Linked DNA regions of Homo sapiens: region 1 is linked to region 2. The links are contacts of gene promoters, found by promoter capture Hi-C in blood cells and fetal thymus (Javierre and others, 2016). All regions are on one chromosome and are shown on one strand. Each heading gives the region's core, a stretch centred on a gene start or on the middle of the fragment in contact. The rest is flanking DNA. Distances are from core to core; before and after follow the strand shown. Region 1 overlaps KANSL3 (KAT8 regulatory NSL complex subunit 3). Region 2 holds the start of CNNM4 (cyclin and CBS domain divalent metal cation transport mediator 4).

Evidence for each region. The method cuts DNA at HindIII sites, captures the fragments that hold promoters and counts their contacts. A CHiCAGO score of 5 or more calls a contact.
Region 1: a fragment that was not itself captured here is called in contact with the fragment with the promoter of CNNM4 in region 2 in 17 of 17 cell types (megakaryocytes, M0 macrophages, monocytes and 14 more); the score reaches 20.7 in megakaryocytes.

What each region holds. Positions count from the first base shown.
Region 1 is chr2:96,599,688-96,604,323 of GRCh38, forward strand. It overlaps KANSL3 (KAT8 regulatory NSL complex subunit 3), which reads right to left. Exons shown (of 21, transcript NM_001115016.3): 17 at 4,563-4,636; 18 at 3,066-3,175; 19 at 2,429-2,651; 20 at 1,956-2,089. Among named protein-coding and RNA genes, the nearest start is that of KANSL3, 36 kb to the right of the region's middle. The HindIII fragment of the contact is 6,934 bases long and covers 1-4,636 here.
Region 2 is chr2:96,759,098-96,763,770 of GRCh38, forward strand. CNNM4 (cyclin and CBS domain divalent metal cation transport mediator 4) reads left to right here and starts at 1,805. Exons shown (of 7, transcript NM_020184.4): 1 at 1,805-3,304. The coding sequence starts at 1,903. RefSeq lists enhancers at 1,243-1,292, 1,852-2,441, 2,313-2,562, 2,442-3,030 and silencers at 1,623-2,042, 2,166-2,349. The HindIII fragment of the contact is 3,226 bases long and covers 850-4,075 here.

The sequences.
Region 1 (4,636 bases), core at 1,918-4,417, 160 kb before region 2:
ATAAAGATTTAACATCTGAATATACAAAGCCACTATAATTCAAAGAGTATGACAAACATTTCATAAAAGACATAAAACTTCTTAAGTAATCAGGAAAATGCACATTAAAACAATTTCATTTTTCACCCAGATTAATAAAGTTAAAATTTTGATTTCCACAAAATATGAAACATATTTTCATCACCGTGGCTAGAATTGTAAAGTAGCAAAAACTTTTTGAAGGGCAGTTAGTGAGCAGCTGCCCAGATATTAGAGGTACACATCCTCTACTTATTCTCTGGCCTGGAGAAATGCTCCCAGAGGTACACAAGAATAAACAAGTGTTCACCAGAGCATTATTTAAAATATCAAAAACCAAAATAGAACCCAGCTATCTACCTAACAGAAGGTGGTGAAATACATCTTCATACATCTACTCAGTGAAATACTAGCCAGCCTCTGAAAAGACACAGACAGGGAAACGTGTCACGACATGATTTATAAAAAAAGGCAAGTTACAAAACAGTCCATACTCTGTAATCCCATATTTGTACAAAATAAATAAAATAACATACTTTGTGTAGAAAAAAAAATTTGAATGGATCCATATCAGGCTATTAACAGTGAACATCATCTCTAGGAGTAGCATCATGGGAAACTTTCCCTTTCTAAATTAATTATTTCTATAATGTTTGAATTATTTAAAATAAGCATAATCATTTTTATAATTGAAAAAATAAGAAATAAGATAAAATTAAAACATTTCCATCCCTCTGCAAAAAAAGGTAGCTATGATCCCAACGAATGTCAGGTGTTGACCTCTGTGCAGTATTTTCCCTAAAGAGGAAGAGACAGAAGAGCTTTTAGAATGGCTCAGGAACTATCACTGCACCTCCAGTTCACAAGCAGGTTGACATGGTGGAAAGGACAGGGAGACACAGGAAGGCCTTGGCTGTATAGCGGATACTGAAGGAAAGCACACTCAGTACTAGACTCAAACTGTTTTTTGGCTTAACTTCTAATCTTTGAGTGGCTCCTCAGATTACCATTTTAAGATTAGAAATATTTGACTTGAAAAGGTCACAGGGGAAATTAGATCAGCTAAGAGAAACTAATCATGACTTCCTGGGTGAGACCTATAAAAACCTAGCTGTGCCCTAAAAAGACAGCAATAAATGCTAAGATATGGGAAGGCACAGTGCTAGAAAGCCAATGTCAAAGAAAGAGTATTATACTTGGGGGCCGAGGCGGGAGGACCACTTAAACCTTGGAGTTCAAGGCCAGCTTGGGCAACATAGTGAGATATCTCTGTCTCCATGTCCTTAAAAACAAAGAAAGGGCCAGGAGCGGTGGCTCACACCTGTAATCCCAGCACTTTCAGAGGCCGAGACAAGTAGATCACTTGAGGTCAGGAGTACGAGGCCAGCCTGGTCAACACAGTGAAACCCTGTTGTAGCCGGGCATGGTGGCGGGCGCCTGTAATCCCAGTTACTTGGGAGGCTGAGGCAGGAGAATTGCTTGAACCGGGGAGGTGGAGGTTGCAGGGAGCCGAGATCACACCCCTGCACTCCAGCTTGGGCGATAGAGCAAGACTCCATCTCAAAAAATAAAAATAAAAACAAAGAAAGAGCATTAGCCAAGTAGCCTCTACTCATAACCTCTGAAGGATGAAACCAAGGATGAGAAAAAAATGAAACGAAAGGAAAAGTAAACAAAAACATTAAATACTAGACACTGCTACCCACTTGAACATATGTACTCTTCACAATATCAAGGGAGGGATGTAGAAGAGGAAGCTCAAAGATGTCCATGATTCGCTCAATATTATAAAGCCACAAACTCCAGAATACAGATTTGAATTTGAATCTGAATCTCGTCTGTCCAGTGCATGGGCAGCCCCTTCAATCAGCCAGTCAGCTGGTCTTAAACTTCCCAATAATGAAGCCCATGTCCTCAGTCCTTCCTGGCAGACTCACCTGTGAGCTGGAGGGCAGCACCTGGGAAGAGGACTCCTCGGATGGGGCTGCTCCTGAGCCCATAGGGCTCAGTGTAGTGATCCTGCTCGGCTGGCCACGAAGTGTCAGAGTAATGGTGGTGGGGACCTTCAAGCCTGAGATAAAGAGAGAGAAGCAGAATTTTTGAGTCACACTCTCCACCTTCTACTGAGGCTTTCCTTTCCTGGAGAGCTTCTCCCCCACATAACACAGTCCCTTGGCCTCCTCCCCAGCTGGGTCATCTATGCCCTATCAGTCAATCTGAAAGGCAACAGGAAACAGCCTGTGTTCTCTCAACCTCTCTGGGGGATGGGTCCACACAGCTGAATCCAAAGGTCAATGCCAGGACCCTGTGGGACTGGTTTCAACATCATACCTTGCCCACATGAGATGGGAAGGTCCTGGGGGAAAGATCCCAGATCTGGGAGTCCCCACAGTTCTCATGAGAGACTCACCTGATGCTTGGTTAGAGATCTGAGCCAGGCCAGGGAGGCTGCTTGCCAACTTAGCGAGGCCCCCATTGGTCAGCAGCTGGTGGATGGCTGTGGGCTTCCCACCAGGAGTGGCACCCAAGGAGGAGAGAGTGGTGGCCACAGGAATGGTACGGACAATGGTGCTGGTGCCCGTGGTGATGGCACCCAGGCTCTGCATGGGGGTGGGCAACTTCACACTGGTGGCCTGTGGGACACACAAGCCCAGGTGATCAGAAGCTGTCGCCCAACAGCAACATTCGAGCTTGGAGGGCCCACAGCATATTATTAAAGGCTAACATGTATTGAGTGCCTACTACATGCAAGGTACTCTTCCAGGCATTTTGCATATATTATTTCATTCTTATAACAACTCTATGAGGGAGGTACTATTATTACCTCATTTTATAGACAAAGAAACAAAAACAGAGTGGTCAAGAAACTTGCCCAAGGTCACACAGTAAATGATAGACCTTAACTTTTGTAAGTTCCCTGCTATGTAGCTAGAAGGCTGTTTGTCCTTGATCCACTGACTCCAGACCTAGTTTCCCTGCCAAAACCAACTAAGCTGAGGAGGCCTCCTCCCTACACCTGCCCAGCCCAGCAGATGGCAGATGTGCACCTGTGGGGCTGGTCCTGGGGAGGGATTTGCTGGAAGGCCAGAGGTCTTGCTGCTGATATCCTGCAAGCTGAAGCTGAGGCCTTGGAGGAGGCTGCTGGCTGATGTGGCCCCTAAGAGAGGACATAGCAGGAATCAGTAGAGACTCAATCACTTGCACTATCCCGAGAGCAGCCACATCCATCCACCCTCACCACCAACTAAAACACCAGTGGTGCTTGCCCTTGGACACCCGTCCTCAGAGAGAAGGCAGGAAGCTCTCCCCAACTAGGCACACACGCAATGGATGCCACACAGGAAAGGTACTGTGCCAGACACTGCCCCGGACTTGCTCTGCACCTGCTGCAAACCATCAGTCATACATTTTAGACCATTTTGAGAAATCCAAGTTTGTTCCTTTCTTTCCAGGGAAGAACTTTTTAAGCCAAAAGAATTATAAATATCCAACTTTCACTTCGCCTCACACAATCAAAGCAGTAAGGAAGTAGCCTCAAAGCAATAAGAAAGGTTCTCTTAAAGGAAAAGGGTTTATTTTATTTTATTTTTTTTTGAGACGGAGTTTCGCTCTCGTTGCCCAGGCTGGAGCGCAATGGCACAATCTCAGCTCACTGCAACCTCCACCTCCTGGGTTCAAGCGATTCTCCTGCCTCAGCCTACCAAGCAGCTGGGATTACAGGTGCCCACCACCACACCCGGCTAATTTTTTGTATTTTTAGTAGAAACGGGGTTTCACCATATTGGCCAGGCTGGTCTCAAACTCCTGACCTCAGGTGATCCACCCACCTCGGCCTCCCAAAGTGTTGGGATTACAGGTGTGAGTCACCATGCCTGGCCAGGAGAGGGTTTCTGCAATGCCTTGGCCCTGCTGGGCTCAGGCAACAGGCCTTTCAAAGTAGGGTTAGTGGGTAGGACAAAGAGAGAGACAAGCACAGACAGAAAAATGTCTCATTTTGCTAATGCCCAGTGTAGCACCATTTCCAGTTTTATTCAGGCAGATGTGCTTAAAACAGCAAAGTAAAACCACAGTCAGCTCTCAATTATCTGTGAGCTTCACAGCAGATTTGCAGATTCAAACAACCACGGATAGAAACCTGTGGATATAGAATTCCAACGGTATGACATAATTTCATATAAGGGACTTGAGCATCCATGGATTTTGGTAGTGGTGAGGGTCCTAGAACCAATCTCCTGTGGATAAGAAAGGCTGACTATACATATATGTCCTATCGGCTATTTCTCCTTACAGTAGAGGATACAGCACCTGTAGACTGGAACATTTACTCACTTGCAGACCAGGACATTTACTCACTGCATTTATTCAAGGCCAAGGAATCCCTCTGCCCAAGCTAATTCCAGCTTCACGTCAAGCCTCTATGATCACTCTAAGACCCAGAGGCCCATCCTATGGATTTAGCTCCAGGGATGCTTTCCCAGGACCACCCAGAAGCAGCAGACCAAAAATTCTGTGTTGGAAGGGGAGAATGCTGGGCCACAAGATACCTGGGAGGGAGCTGCCAGGAGATGTGGCCACCAGGCGGCTCTGCAGTGTGTGCAAGGCACTGGGTGCAGTGCTG
Region 2 (4,673 bases), core at 555-3,054:
GGTAGGGGTGGAGCAGGGCGCTGGTGTTACAGCTCACTAGGAGATGAGGAGAGCTGGGTTTGCTTTGAGGCAATTCAGGTAGCTCTTCCTGGTTGGTGGAGACAGGGAAGGAACAGGCAGTCAAGGTTCTGCTTTTGTTCTGTCTCAGCCAGTGCCCATTCCAAGGCTCCTATTCCTCGAAAAAACTGACCTGCTGGGCACTCACTGCAAAGTATCCGCTATGAGTGGGGCCCCTACTAGCAACATACTTCTCCAGGCTGGCCTAGTTTACAGAACCCTCAATCCCAGCTAACAGGGCTTTCTTGAGTCAGGGCCTCTCTGCTACCACACCTCCTCCCACAACATTGTGTGATCCTTTCTGTTTAGGCTCCTTCCGTTTGGTACTGATTGCTGCTTTTATTAGCAAACATTACACCAAAATGAAAATAAATACAAGTGTCAGTGCGGGAAGGGAGTAAAGTGGGTTCTGTGTCTTCAGTACTGGCAAAAGATTTGCTGTGAGACCTGGTGGTCAACCCAGTACCTGATCTTCTCTGTGCACCTGTGCAATTATTGTAAGGATGTTTATCTGTCTGTCTTCTTCCCCCTCACAGGGCGGGCAGCTGTGGTCTTCCTTATACACCCTACTGACACAGGGCTAGGGCCATTCAGGAAGCAGTCATTTCAGGGATAGGCCCACTGCCGCGCCTGCCTGCTCATGTCCACAAGCAGCTGCCCAGCTGATCAATCACCACAATTTGGGGTTAGGAGTTTGGTCCTGGAAGGCAGGTAGCAACAACTACTACCTAGCCAAAGAATATTCTAAAGAGCTGTCCTGTCATGTTCAATGTCTAGGTCCACAATCCCGCAAGCTTAGCGAAGTAATGCTCTGTCATTCTTACCCCCATTTACAGATGGAGAAATGGGCTGGGAGATGACAGTATGGAGGCACCAGGATTTTTGTCTCGGCTCAATTTCTGCATCTCTAAATGGAAATAATTCTACTAACTCTGAGGGTTGTTGGGGGGATTTAATGAATATATGTGTTTACTTGTTTATCTCCTGTTTTCTGTTCTAGACTGTAAACCCCAATGGGCAGCGACTTTGGCTTGTTCACTGCTCTATTGTCAGAGCCTAGAACAAGTGCCTGGTACAAAGTAGGTGTTCAATAAATATCTATGCCTAAATGGAAGAGACAGGAGAGAAGTCTAGGCCAGAGCCTGCCCCTTCTATAACCTTAGTTCCCCAGATTTGCCTTCCACATCAGGCAGCCACTGGTTGATGGAAGCATCGTCGGGCTGGGGCTGGGGCTGGGGTAACCTACTTCTGGCCTTAGGACAAGGTCGGCAAAAATCTCAGCAGTGAGGAGGCCAGAAAAGTCTCCAAGGGGCAGGCTGCAATGCCAGCCTAAGCCCTCAGGTTTCCTTTTTCTTTTTCTACATCAGGAAAAGCACTTTTCTCGCCCTGCCTGCAGAGCGGGCCACCCCTAGCTGCAGGTGAGGGACGGGAGAGGAGCCTCCCACGTGCGGCCGTGCGAGGCCGAGGAACAGGAACGGCGTAGCTAGGAGACCAGGTCCCGGAGAAGGAGAGCTGGCCCCACTGGCAGAGAAAGGCGGGGAAGGGCGCGGAGGCGGAGCACTGGGCGGGTACCCGCTGGCGGCTCTCGCGCGGCGGCGCTGCTCCACCTTAAGCGACTGTACCCCCTTAAGGGCGGGCGCTCAAGCAGCGAGCCCCGGGGGCGGGGCCTCCAATGCAAATGAGGGGCGTGGGCAGGCGGGGCGGGGCGGGCGGGGCGCTGACCTGACGTCAGGCTCGCGGCCCGGGCAGTTGGCTCGGCGGCAGCGGAGCGGCCGGAGCTGCGGTGCGGACCGGGGCCGCGCGGCGTGGCGCGGGGAGCGGCGGCGGCGGCAGAGCCAGAGCAACATGGCGCCGGTGGGCGGGGGCGGGCGCCCGGTCGGCGGACCGGCCCGCGGGCGCCTCCTCCTGGCGGCGCCGGTGCTGCTGGTGCTGCTGTGGGCGCTGGGGGCCCGGGGCCAGGGCAGCCCCCAGCAGGGCACGATCGTGGGCATGAGGCTGGCGAGCTGCAACAAGTCGTGTGGGACGAACCCGGATGGCATCATCTTCGTGTCCGAGGGCAGCACCGTGAACCTGAGGCTGTACGGCTACAGCCTGGGCAACATCTCCAGCAACCTGATCTCCTTCACCGAGGTGGACGATGCCGAGACCCTCCACAAGTCCACCAGCTGCCTCGAGCTCACCAAGGACCTGGTCGTCCAGCAGCTGGTCAACGTGAGCCGCGGGAACACGTCCGGCGTGCTGGTGGTGCTCACCAAGTTCCTCCGGAGGAGCGAGAGCATGAAGCTGTATGCACTGTGCACCCGGGCCCAGCCCGACGGGCCCTGGCTGAAGTGGACGGACAAGGACTCACTGCTCTTCATGGTGGAGGAGCCTGGGAGGTTCCTGCCTCTCTGGCTGCACATTCTCCTAATTACGGTGCTGCTGGTGCTGTCGGGCATATTTTCTGGCCTCAACCTCGGGCTTATGGCCCTGGACCCCATGGAGCTGCGCATCGTGCAGAACTGTGGCACCGAGAAGGAGAGGCGCTATGCCCGCAAGATTGAGCCCATCCGGCGCAAGGGCAACTACCTTCTCTGCTCGTTGCTCCTAGGGAACGTGCTGGTCAACACCTCCCTCACAATCCTTCTAGACAACCTCATCGGGTCCGGCCTCATGGCGGTGGCCTCCTCCACCATTGGCATTGTCATCTTTGGGGAGATCCTACCTCAGGCCCTGTGCTCCCGACATGGGCTGGCTGTGGGTGCCAACACCATCCTTCTCACCAAATTCTTTATGCTACTCACCTTCCCCCTCAGTTTTCCCATTAGCAAGCTCCTGGACTTTTTTCTGGGCCAGGAGATTCGCACTGTTTACAACCGGGAGAAGCTGATGGAGATGTTGAAGGTGACGGAGCCCTATAATGACCTCGTGAAAGAGGAGCTCAATATGATCCAGGGTGCCCTGGAACTACGGACCAAAACTGTAGAGGATATCATGACCCAGCTCCAGGACTGCTTCATGATCCGCAGCGATGCCATCCTGGACTTCAACACCATGTCGGAGATAATGGAAAGCGGCTATACTCGCATCCCGGTGTTCGAAGACGAGCAGTCCAATATTGTAGATATTCTCTACGTCAAAGACTTGGCCTTTGTGGACCCCGATGACTGCACCCCCCTCAAGACTATCACTCGCTTCTATAACCACCCGGTGCACTTTGTCTTCCATGACACCAAGTTGGATGCCATGCTGGAGGAGTTCAAGAAGGGTAAGGCCAGATGTAGTTCCCCTGGTTCAATTTCCTCTTGACGCCTCTTTTCCCCTGGCGTGTTTTGTGTCTGCTGGCTTTAGTGTTCTGTTTGTGTGACTCTGTGTCCCTTTGCCTATCGCTTCCTATGCTTCTGAGGTGAACGATTTTGGAGCGGTAGACCCATTCTCAAGTGTCTGCCGTCTGCCAGGTAGTGTGCTGTGTGCTCCTGATGAATCAAAGCTGAATAAGACATACTCGCTCCCTTGGAGGGCTGGAGCAAGACCTCAGGGAGCTATTGAAGCAAGACAGAGTAAGACAGATGCCTGAAAAGAGGCCAGGGCGATGGAGATTTAGAGTATGGGGTGGAGTCAGGAAGGGGCTGGGAAATTGGGGAATCCACAGGGGAAGGAGCATTTGAGGAGAATCTTAAAAGGTAGAGAGGCTTGCTGCTTGAGGCAGAGGGAACCCCGCAAGCAGAGAACCGGAGTGGAGAAGCAAAAGTGTGCTTGTGGCCCAGCAGGTGGTCCTGTTTGGTGGGTATAGTGGCTCTGATGCTTAGTGGTCAATGGCTGGAGTAGTTTGGGGCCCGGTGGTGGACGCTAAGTTTGCTCCCAGCTTGGGAGCTACAGGTTTTTGAGCAGGGGAGTCATGTTACTGGAGGTGCTAGCCCACAGAAGCAGAATTGGGAGGTCTCTAATTGGCTCGCTTCTCAGAACAATGCCAAGTAGCGCTTTCGACTATTCAGCAGAAGCAAGCAGATTAAGTTTTGGTAATTGTGGCGCCAGCGTAAGCTTCCCTCCAGTGGTCTGCTGGAAATCTTCAGCTGCCTTGCACTGCCTTGTGTTTTTTTCTCACCTGGGTTCTTGGCCATTTCGCAGGTAGTTAGAGAGGCATTTGGAGGGTTTACTCATCAGCCTCAAAGCTCAAGGCACACACTCCTTTTCTTCCAGCAAAATTTTCCTCCCATCTCTGCCATTCAGAAACCCTCAAAGTGGCAGTAAACAAGCCAATTATGGAGTGGAACCCTCCCAGGCTGAAGGAAGTGAGGAGGCAGAAAGGGAAGCTCTTTTTTAAAGGAATGGGGGTGAGGGGCTCATCCTAAACTTGGGGACTTTGCTTTCTAAACATGCTCCCAGCCTTCATTCCCATAGGAGAGCTCCTACTGGCTGAGGCTGCTCAGGCCGACCTAGGGCTTGGAGGGACTTCGGAATCCTAGCAGGGAGTGAGCTGGCAGGTGTTTCTGTAACGGAGAGTGGAGGACAGCTTTGGAGTGGGATAGGGAGGAGCTGGCTTTGCCAGGTTTGGTCTGAAAAGATGCTGGGGTCAGGGCCAGGGTGGTGGGTTGGTACCCTCCTAAGTTCAACAGACTGAATCTTAGTATCGGAGC